2 separate regions of the Homo sapiens genome follow, and region 2 is linked to region 1. The links are contacts of gene promoters, found by promoter capture Hi-C in blood cells and fetal thymus (Javierre and others, 2016). All regions are on one chromosome and are shown on one strand. Each heading gives the region's core, a stretch centred on a gene start or on the middle of the fragment in contact. The rest is flanking DNA. Distances are from core to core; before and after follow the strand shown. Region 1 holds the start of LYL1 (LYL1 basic helix-loop-helix family member). Region 2 overlaps CACNA1A (calcium voltage-gated channel subunit alpha1 A).

Region 1 (6,773 bases), core at 201-2,700:
AGGTGCTAGGCAGCGCACTGTCCCTGAGCTCTTTGTGACCCAGGAGGGGCGCTGTTGCCCAGCCTCTGAGCAAATATTCCTTCTTCCAGAATTCCCTCACCTCTGCAGCCTGGAGAGGGAACAAGACAGGGAGCCCCTAACTGATCCTGGGATCCCCAGAAACCCCAAGATTAACCCTGTTATCCTCAGATCTAAAGATCCAACCCAGAGACTCCTCATTAACTCATTGATGCCATGTGAGCTTGGAATCCCTCCAAGATGGACTCTGACCCTTCACGGAAGGCCCCCAGCCCCCACCCAGGCTGACCCTCTGCACCTCAAGAATGACCCTGCGGTTCTTCCCATTGCTGTCCCTGAAAGTGCTCCATAATTGCTTGAGTGACCCCCACTCCCACTGCAAACATCCCCCATAGCAACCCTGTGACCCCACTACTGACACTATGACCTCAAATGCTGACCCTAGACCCCCAAACACTGACCCCACTGCCCAGTCCAGTCCAGTCATGCCCCAACCCTCCCTCTGGCTTGGAAGCCCCCATCCTCATCAGCATCCACGCTTTTTAAAATTTGTTTATTTTTTTAGAGACAGGGTCTCCCTCTGTTGTCCAGGCTGGAGTGCAGTGGTGCAATCATAGTGCACTGCAGCCTCAAATTCCTGGGCTCGAGCCATCCTCCTGTCTCAGCCTCCTGAGTAGCTGAGAGTACAGGCATGTGCCACCATGCCCGGCTAATTTAAAAAAAAAAATTTTTTTTGTAGAGGCAGGTTCTCACTCTGTTGTCCAGGGTGGTCTGGAACTCCTGGGCTCAAGTGATCCTCCTGCCTCAGCCTCCCAAAGTGCTGGGATTACAGGCATGCACCACAATGCCCCGCGATCATCCACAGTTTTGCATACTGTTTTGACATCCCTGTTTGCTCTTGGTTCCAGAGTCCAGGATGTCCCAGCAAGGTGTGAGACTGTTGGCCCCTCTGCCCTGTCTTCCTCAGCTAGGCCCTGGGGAAGCAGGCCTGGCCCCTCACTAGTGGGTCCCTGCTGGTGAATGAATGAATGAAGGAATGAACAAAGGAATGCAGGCTGGGTCCCAGGCCCGGGATCCTCCACCTTTAGGCCCGCTCCCCTCTTACCCCAGCACTGTTCTTGCAGCCTGGTGAGTGCCCTGGCTCTGTCCCGTCAGGGCTGGCAGTCTGGGCCAGGGTGTGGTTTCCAGCGTCAGGCCAGGCTCTGCTGTCTCGCGAGGGTCCGGCCTCAATGCTCCAGGCCCCGGCGTTGGGCCGCGCCTCCTCGTGGGCCTCGGAAGGCCAGGATAGCCGAGGTCTCCGCGTAGGTCCCCCCCAGGGAAAGTGAGCGGCTCCCGGGCCGGCCCGCCTTCTCCCCGCCCCCGGCGGCCCGGTTTCCTCCCTCTCACCCCTGGCGGCGCAGCGGCCGGAGGATGCTGGCCCAGTGCAGATAAGGGCCAGGCTGCCTGGCCGCGCCTGATAAGGAGCCTGGCTGACCCCGGAGGAAACCAGCGGGCGGGGACCTAGCAGCGCGGGCCTCCCGGCCCCGCCCCCAGCCGGCGCTGGCAGGACTCGGTCCGCCACCCCTCAGGGCTTCGCCTTCCGCTCCCCCAGCCACTGTAGGGACCCCGGGCCTCTGGGGACCCGGGCCCCAGGGCAGCCGGGGAGGGAGGTGCCTGGATGCACGCAGGGGGTAAACTGAGGCAGGGAAGCTGCCTCCTCTTATGTCCGAGTCTGCCCTTTGGCTTTGCACACTCCCTGCCCGAATGTCTGTGCTGATGGGGGTGAGGGAGAGCCCTTTCCGGCCCGTTGGGGCCGCGTGACCCTGGGCCCCCACCTCCTCTCCTCACCCAGCCTGGTTCCTCTTTTTACAGAGGCCCTTCCCTCCTCTCCACCACCCCTACCCGGGAGTGGGGCACCCAAAGGGGAACAGTTCTAACAGTCTGGCCTTGGGTGTCCAGCCTGGGCAGGTGTCCCAAGCCCTCAGCACAGTATCCACACATTTCCAAGCCCAGGAGGGTGAGAGGAAGAGCCATGGCTGTCAGGGGTGGGGTGGGGAAGTTGGATTTCCTAGGGTGCTGGGGCTGGTGTGACCTTCCAGTAGATGCCCAACAGGTCCCCACAACTATAGGCCTCTTGGCTACAGGATCACATAACTCCAACTTGGTGGTCCATGGCCCTCACCCCACAGCACCCGGCCCCTTCATGGGGGGCAGTTATCCTGGCTTGGTGGTAAACCTCAAGACCCTACTGGAGCCTCCCACAGGGAGAGGCTCTGGGCACAGCCAGGCAGCAGCAGCTACCAGACTGCCACCCACTTGTGATACTCATGCTTTGGCCCGTCTGTGTATCTGGGCAACTGCAAGAGCCCCCAGGCAGGCAGGCACCCAGCAGCAGGACTACCAACCCCCCCCCCCCCCCGCCCAGGAATGGGGTGGAGCCCAGGACCCCACGATCAACACCTCCATTGCTTTCCTCCAAAGAAGCAGGAACTAAAGTTTTATGCAGTAAAGGCCGGGCTTGGTGGCTCATGCCTGTCATCCCAGCACTTTGGGAGGCTGAGGCTGGCGGATTGCTTGGGCTCATGAGTTTGAGACCAGCCTGGGAAACATGGCAAAACCCCATCTCTACAAAAAATACAAAAATTAGCTGGTTGTGGTGGTGCGTGCCTGTAGTCCCTGCTACTCTGGAGGCTGAGGTGGGAGGATGGCGTGAGCCTGGGAGGTGGAGGCTGCAGTGAGCCAATATTGCGCCACTGCACTCCAGCCTGGGCCACACACCTAGACCTTGCCTCAAAAAAAAAAAAAAAAAAAAAAAAATTAAGCGCTAACTCTGATATCGCTACAAGGAGGGTCCTAAGATTAGCCTCATTACAGATGGGGATGAAGGGAGCAGGAGCCAGAGAGGGGATCCTGCCCCAGGACTCTTCGTTAACGTTACTAAACCCCACTCTGGAGGGCAGGGAGGGGTACAGCTCCCCCTCACTGGGTGTCTGGGCAGCAGCCTGCGAGGTCCCTCTTTGTGTGCACGCCCCCCTCGCCCCGGGCCTCAGGGCAGGAAGCACCTGGTCTGGAGCGGATGCACAGGGCGCCTGGTTCCGGTCCAGCTTCCGCCACTGTGGCCCCTGGAGAGCTGGGCCAAAGAAACCAGGCGGCGAGGAGGCAGCGGCGCGAAGACACGTGGGGGCTACCGGGCAGGAGCGCCCCACTATGCGCAAGCCCGTGGCCTGGAGAGCGCTGAAGGTGGGAGGGGGAAGAGGGGCAGAACCCCCGCGGGAGCGAGCGCACAGCTGCCGCCCCGTGGCCGCTTCGGGAATCGCTGGCTCCGGCTCTGGGGTGGCTCAGTGACCCTCGCTGCAGAGGGGCCGACCACTGTGCAGATGGTCAGCTCCTACCTCCCATACAGACTCAACACTCCAGCCAGGCAGGGGCGAACGATCCCCAGAGGAACAGATCCCAGTCATGCAGCTGTATGGACCAATACACAAACCACAGGCAATCGGGAGAAGGTGACGTGACATCTCTTTATTGGTTCAGTCTATGCCTGGCCCAGCGGCAGCCCCAGGTCCAGGGGGGGTCTGGTTGGAGGTCTCTGGACAGTCAGGGGCAGCATCAGCAGAAACCCTGGGTGTCGGGGGGCTGTGGGAGTAGCAGCACTGGTCCCCGCGTTGACAGGTGCCCTGGTGGGAAGATGGTGGGTGTGAACCCCTGCCCGGAGCTCAGCAGCCCCTGATGGGATCCTTTCCTGGGATGGGAAGCCCACTCCCAAACACTTGCCTGGCCCCAGCTCCCCCAATTCTCTCCCTGTTGCCCAAAGGGGAGACTCATGTGTCCTGCAGTGGAGGAAAGGGAGGAGGGACCTCACCTCCTTAAACCTCTTGCAAGGAAATGTCTTGAGCCGGGCAGCCCGCTGGGCCACATCTTCCGGCGGCTCCTTCCGCTTGTTCTGAAGCAGCCTGCGTCTCTCCTCCATAGCTTCGTCGGCCGCCTTGCCCCTGTGCGAGGGGAGGAGTAGGTGGGACCCCATCTGCCCTTTACCCCTTCTTTCCCTGGCTGAGCCCCACCCCCACCTTACCACCACTCACCCTGGCCGGGCACGAGGCCGGGGACCCCAGTTGGCCTCCGGGTTAGCCTGGAAGCGCTTGAGTCCTCGCTGTCGGGAGCTGGGGTTGGCATCTTCCCGGATGGTGAAGTTGGCCTGCAGCCTAGGGAAGCAGGGGTGGGGCGTTGGGGCTGGGGGAAGCTGCCACACGAGTGTGTCCCCACTCCCCACAGGGCCTGTCCGCCTCCACAACACAGCACGAGGTGTCTGCTCATGTCAGGATTCTCTCATTCATCTAATAAACATTTTTGGTTTTTTTAAAGAGATGGGGTCTCGGCCAGGCACGGTGGCTCATGCCTGTAAATCCCAGCATTTTGGGAGGCTGAGGCGGGTGGATCACCTGAGGTCAGGAGTTCGAGACCAGCCTGGCCAACATGGTGAAACCCCATCTCCACTAAAAATACAAAAATTAGCCAGGCGTGGTGCCGGGTGCCTGTGATACCAGCTACTCGGGACGCTGAGGCAGGAGAATCGCTTGAACCTGGGAGGCGGAGGTTGCAGTGAGCTGAAATCGCACCACTGCACTCCAGCCTGGGCAAGAGAGTGAGCCTCTGTCTAAAAAAAAATAAAATAAAGATACAGGGTCTCACTCTGCTGCCCAGGCTGGAGTGCAGTGGTGCGATCGCCATCAAAGCTGCAGTCTGGAACTCCTGGGCTTGAGCAACCCTCCTGCCTCCGCCTCAAGCTCCTGAGTAGCTGGGACGACAGGCAGGTACCACCATGCCCAGCTAATTTTTTTAGTTTTCTGGTAGAGATGGAGTCTTAATTACTGTGTTGCCCAGGCTGGTTTCATTCCTGGGCTCAAGCGATCTTCCCGCCTTGGCCCCCAAAGCACTGGGATTATAGGAATGAGCCACCATGCCTGGCCTTAATAAACATTTTTATTTAACGACTGTGTGCCTGCATTGTTCTCAGTGCTGGGAATAGACAGTGAACAAAATGGACAAAAAGTTACCCCTGGTATGCTGGTAATGCTAATTTTCTTTTCTTTTGGGATGGAGTCTCACTCTGTCGCCCAGGCTGGAGTGCAGTGGTGCGATCTCGGCTCACTACAAACTCTGCCTCAGGTTCAAGCGATTCACCTGCCTCAGCCTCCCGAGTAGCTGGGACTACAGGCATGTGCCACCACACCTGGCTAATTTTTTTTTTTTTTTTGTATTTTTAGTAGAGACAGGGTTTCGTCATGTTGGCCAGGCTGGTCTTGAACTCCTGACCTCAGGTGATCTGCCTGTCTTGGCCTCCCAAAGTGCTGGGATTACAGGTGTGAGCCACTACGCCCAGCCCAGTCAGCAGATTTAGTTATTTTTATTTTTATTTATTTATTTATTTATTTATTTGAGACGGAGTCTTACTCTGTCACCCAGGCTGGAGTGCAGTGGCGCTATCTCGGCTCACTGCAAGCTCTGCCCCCCGGGGTTCACGCCATTCTCCTGTCTCAGCCTCCCGAGTAGCTGGGACTACAGGCACCTGCCACCACGCCCGGCTAATTTTTTTTTTTTTTTTTTTGTATTTTTAGTAGAGACAGGGTTTCACTGTGTTAGCCAGGATGGTCTCAATCTCCTGATCTCGTGATCCGCCTGCCTCGGCCTCCCAAAGTGCTGGGACTACAGGCATGAGCCACCGCACCCAGCTATTTTTTTATTCTTTTTGAGATGGAGTCTCGCTCTGTCGCCCAGGCTGGAGTGCAATGGCGCGATCTAGACTCACCGCAACCTCTGCCTCCCAGGTTCAAGCGATTCTCCTGTCTCAGCCTCCTGAGTAGCTGGGATTACAGGCACCCACCACCACACCATGCCCAGCTAATTTTTGTATTTTTAGTAGAGATGGGGTTCCACCATGTTGGCCAGGCTGGTCTTGAACTCCTGACCTCAGGTGATCCACCTGCCTCAGCCTCCCAAAGTGCTGGGATTACAGGCGTGAGCCACCTACCCAGCCCCAGTCAGCAGATTTTGAATCTCACTTGAAGAATGGGCACGAGTCTGTGTGGGGCAGCATCTGTGTTGTCTGCACACACATGTGCTTCCATGTCTGTGGGCAGCCCTGGCCGCTCCTGCATGTGCTTGCCCCTACCTGGGCTCCACACTGAGAATGCGGAACGCTGGGCTAGTCTCTGATAGTCGCTCCCGTTTCACCGGACATTCCTTCTCCTGGGGGCAGAGGTCAGAGGTTAGGGAATACTAGGCCCAAGGGACCTCCAGGTGACCACCACCTGCCCTCCCACCTGCATGAGGTCAGCCCTGCCCTCACCCAGCAACGCATGATGTCCCAGAGGGCAGAGGCAGGGGCATCCGTCTTCACAGCGTTCTTACAGGCGTGGGAGAGTGAGACCCGGAAGTCAGCGTGGAGGAGGGCCGACCTGGGGAACAGCAGGGATTATGAGGGAGATGCCGGACTCCTTGACCCCAAAGCCCAAGCTGACCAGCGTAGGTAAGACTACCTTCGGCAAGGGCTCATGGCTACAGAGTTCATTTCTTTTCTTTTCTTTTTTTTTTTTTTTTTTTTTTTGAGATGGAGTCTCGCTCTGTCGCTCAGGCTGGAGTGCAATGGCGCAATCTTGGCTCACCACAGCCTCCGCCTCCTGGGTTTAAGCGATTCTCCTGCCTCAGCCTCCCGAATAGCTGGGACTATAGGCATGTGCCACCACGCCCAGCTAATTTTTGTATTTTTAGTAGAGACA
Region 2 (2,750 bases), core at 1-2,500, 160 kb after region 1:
TTGTCGTAATGGAATTCATACTTCTTCCACTCCCGGTCTCGCGCCTTCACCTCATTCTTCTCGTAGAGGAGGTATTTGCCTCTGCCACAGAGAGTGGGGACTGTTAGTAAATGGGAAAGAGGGGCTGTCTTGCACTTGTCTTTGGTTATCAGAGACAGGGGGAGGGAAAGGAAGAGTGGTCCACCAGCCTAGACTGCTTGGGAAGCAGTGACTCCCCATCCTGCCACCATGTGTTCCTGTGCTTCATAGGGGATGACGTGTGCATCTACTTTGAGATAAATCCATGGGTGATGGCACAACCTTACTCCTGGTGGGAGAGCTGACCCAGGGTCCAGCACCCTCTTCCAACGTGATAACTTCTAGTCCTCAGGGTGAGAGCCTCAGGCTTGCTGGGGGTGGGGTGGAGGGAGTTTAGGAGGAGGCAGAGAGACATAGGGGACATTTAGAGGTTCATCAGGCTAAGGGAGGTTGCTACTCCTTTTCAAGGCAGGAAACAAGGGTTAGTTCCAGACTCCTATCCAGACATCTGGCATCCTCCTAATTTCAATAAATAGCCATCAAGATAACAACAGGCTACCATGTGTTGCAAAATGCCACTTTACACTGGTAACAATATCACTATATATACACATACATATATATACACACACACATATAATACATATGTGTGTGTGCGTGTACATATATATATATACATATATATATATATATATTTTTGTTGTTGTTGTTTGTTTGTTTGTTTGTTTGAGATGGAGTCTGGCTCTGTTGCCCAGACTGGAGTACAGTGGCCCAATCTGGGCTCACTGCAAGCTCCGCCTCCCGGGTTCACGCCATTCTCCTGTCTCAGCCTCCCAAGTAGCTGGGACTACAGGCGTCTGCCACCATGCCCAGCTAGGTTTTTGTATTTTTAGTAGAGACAGGGTTTCACCGTGTTAGCCAGGATGGTCTCGATCTCCTGACCTCATGATCCGCCCGCCTCGGCCTCCTAAAGTGCTGAGATTATAAGCATGAGCCACTGCGCCCGGCCTATATGTATATATTTTTGAGAGGCAGGGTCTCACTCTGTCACGCAGGCTGGAGTGCAGTGGTACCATCATAGTGCATTGCAGCCTTGAACTCCTGTGTTTAAACAATCCTCCCGCCTCAGCCTCCCGGGTAGCTGGGACTACAGGTGTGTGCTACCATGCCCCGCTAACTTTTAAAATTTATTTTGTAGGATGGGCTCTCATTATGTTGCCCAACCTGGTCTCCAACTCCTGGCCTCAAGTGATCCTCCCACCTCAGCCTCCCAAAGTGTTGGAATTACAGGTGTGAGCCACTGCACCTGGCCTCTTACCTAACTTATTTGGTAATGAAACCTGATCTGATTGGACATGAAGCTCTTTATACTTGTTATTTACCCCATTTGATGTAAATAGTTACACATTTTATGGCAGAAATATTGTGTTTGATTATAGGGCTGCCTTAGACCCAGCTGAGGGTGTCATGTCCCACATGGGAATCTCAAAATATTCTCAACTTTGAAACACATCTGCCTGTAACGATTTCAAGTAAGGAACTGTGGATGTGTATTAATATCCCTCACATGACAAAGGCGGTGGCTGAAAGGTCAATCAATTTGCTTATGACTCATTCTGTGGCTCTGGGTGGTGACTCAAATTCTAAAACCGGTTTTCTTTCTACCCAAGATCCAAGCTGGTTGCAACTGAGTCACTTCCAAGGCTCATCACTTCTCCAGTCTCTGAGCCCAAGTGGCCAATGCCTCTAGCCACTTCCCCCCTGCCCACCTGCTGGTTCCAATGGGAATGTGCTGGAAAGTGGAGACCCACCGACAATCTTTCTCAAACTCTTTGGACTCGTCAGTGCAGTGGAAGAATTTCCCCTTGAAGAGCTGCACAGCCACCACGGCGAAGATGAACATGAATAGCATGTAGACGATGAGGATGTTGAAGACGTTTTTAAGTGAGTTCACCACACAGTCAAACACAGCCTGTGGGGTGGAGTTGACAGAGAGCATGAGGGGCTGGGGACCTGCCCAACCTTCTGCCTCCAGTGGCCCATCATACCAAAATACTGCCATGATCATTCCCATTTTACAGGCAAGGTCATAAGTCAAGTCACTAGGGTAAGGTCCCCCCAGCTTTCAGAAATAAGCGTTGGAGGAGTTGGACTCAATCCTGGCATTCTATGGATCTAAAACTCCCAGATGGGATACCAGAGATGCTTTTAAGTGATACAGGAGCCCAACACAGAAAAACAAGGTAACAAAGTTACTTCCTTTCCAACTCTCTCAATCCTTTTGAGTGAAGGAGAAATTTTTACTTAGTTGCTACCATGTTAACACCTACCATTGACATTTTCCCTCTTTAACCAAGAAAGAGCAGTTGTCAATGCACAAAGCCTTAGGCAGGCAGCCATATTTGGTTAGATTTCCATAACAGTATCTGTTTTCTGTCTTTAATTTTTAGTAGAGACAGAGTCTAACTATGTTGCCCAGGCTGGTCTCATTCTCCTGGGCTCAAGCAACACTCCTGCCTTGGTCTTTCAAAATGCAGGGATTACGGGTGTGACTTGATTTAAAGAAACATATTACATAAGAGATAATACTGGGGACCCCCAGGTGAAGCATAGAGTGAAAGTGGGTGCTCTAATGACTGGATTTTATTTCCCTTAATATATATATATGTTTTTGAATGACAGGCTTTTGGGAAATGCTGGTTCATGCTATTTTGGAATGGGAGATACTAGAG

The links. The method cuts DNA at HindIII sites, captures the fragments that hold promoters and counts their contacts. A CHiCAGO score of 5 or more calls a contact.
Region 2: a contact is called between a fragment that was not itself captured here and the fragment with the promoter of LYL1 in region 1, in 2 of 17 cell types (naive CD4 T cells and endothelial precursors). The highest score is 5.7, in naive CD4 T cells.

What each region holds. Positions count from the first base shown.
Region 1 is chr19:13,101,408-13,108,180 of GRCh38, forward strand. LYL1 (LYL1 basic helix-loop-helix family member) reads right to left here and starts at 1,451. Exons shown (of 4, transcript NM_005583.5): 1 at 1,124-1,451. It overlaps TRMT1 (tRNA methyltransferase 1), which reads right to left. Exons shown (of 17, transcript NM_001136035.4): 13 at 6,344-6,452; 14 at 6,167-6,243; 15 at 4,080-4,199; 16 at 3,860-3,989; 17 at 3,500-3,674. The coding sequence ends at 3,528. It overlaps LOC105372282 (a long non-coding RNA gene), which reads left to right and starts at 3,009. Exons shown (of 2, transcript XR_001753871.2): 1 at 3,009-3,237; 2 at 3,401-3,499. RefSeq lists cis regulatory regions at 1,204-2,124, 2,924-3,504, silencers at 1,224-1,833, 4,554-4,633 and enhancers at 2,914-2,993, 2,928-3,222, 3,134-3,193. The HindIII fragment of the contact is 45,459 bases long and covers 1-6,773 here.
Region 2 is chr19:13,259,621-13,262,370 of GRCh38, forward strand. CACNA1A (calcium voltage-gated channel subunit alpha1 A) reads right to left here. Exons shown (of 47, transcript NM_001127222.2): 26 at 1,830-1,990; 27 at 1-81. Among named protein-coding and RNA genes, the nearest start is that of IER2, 110 kb to the left of the region's middle. RefSeq lists enhancers at 1,118-2,317, 1,526-1,755. The HindIII fragment of the contact is 4,266 bases long and covers 1-2,750 here.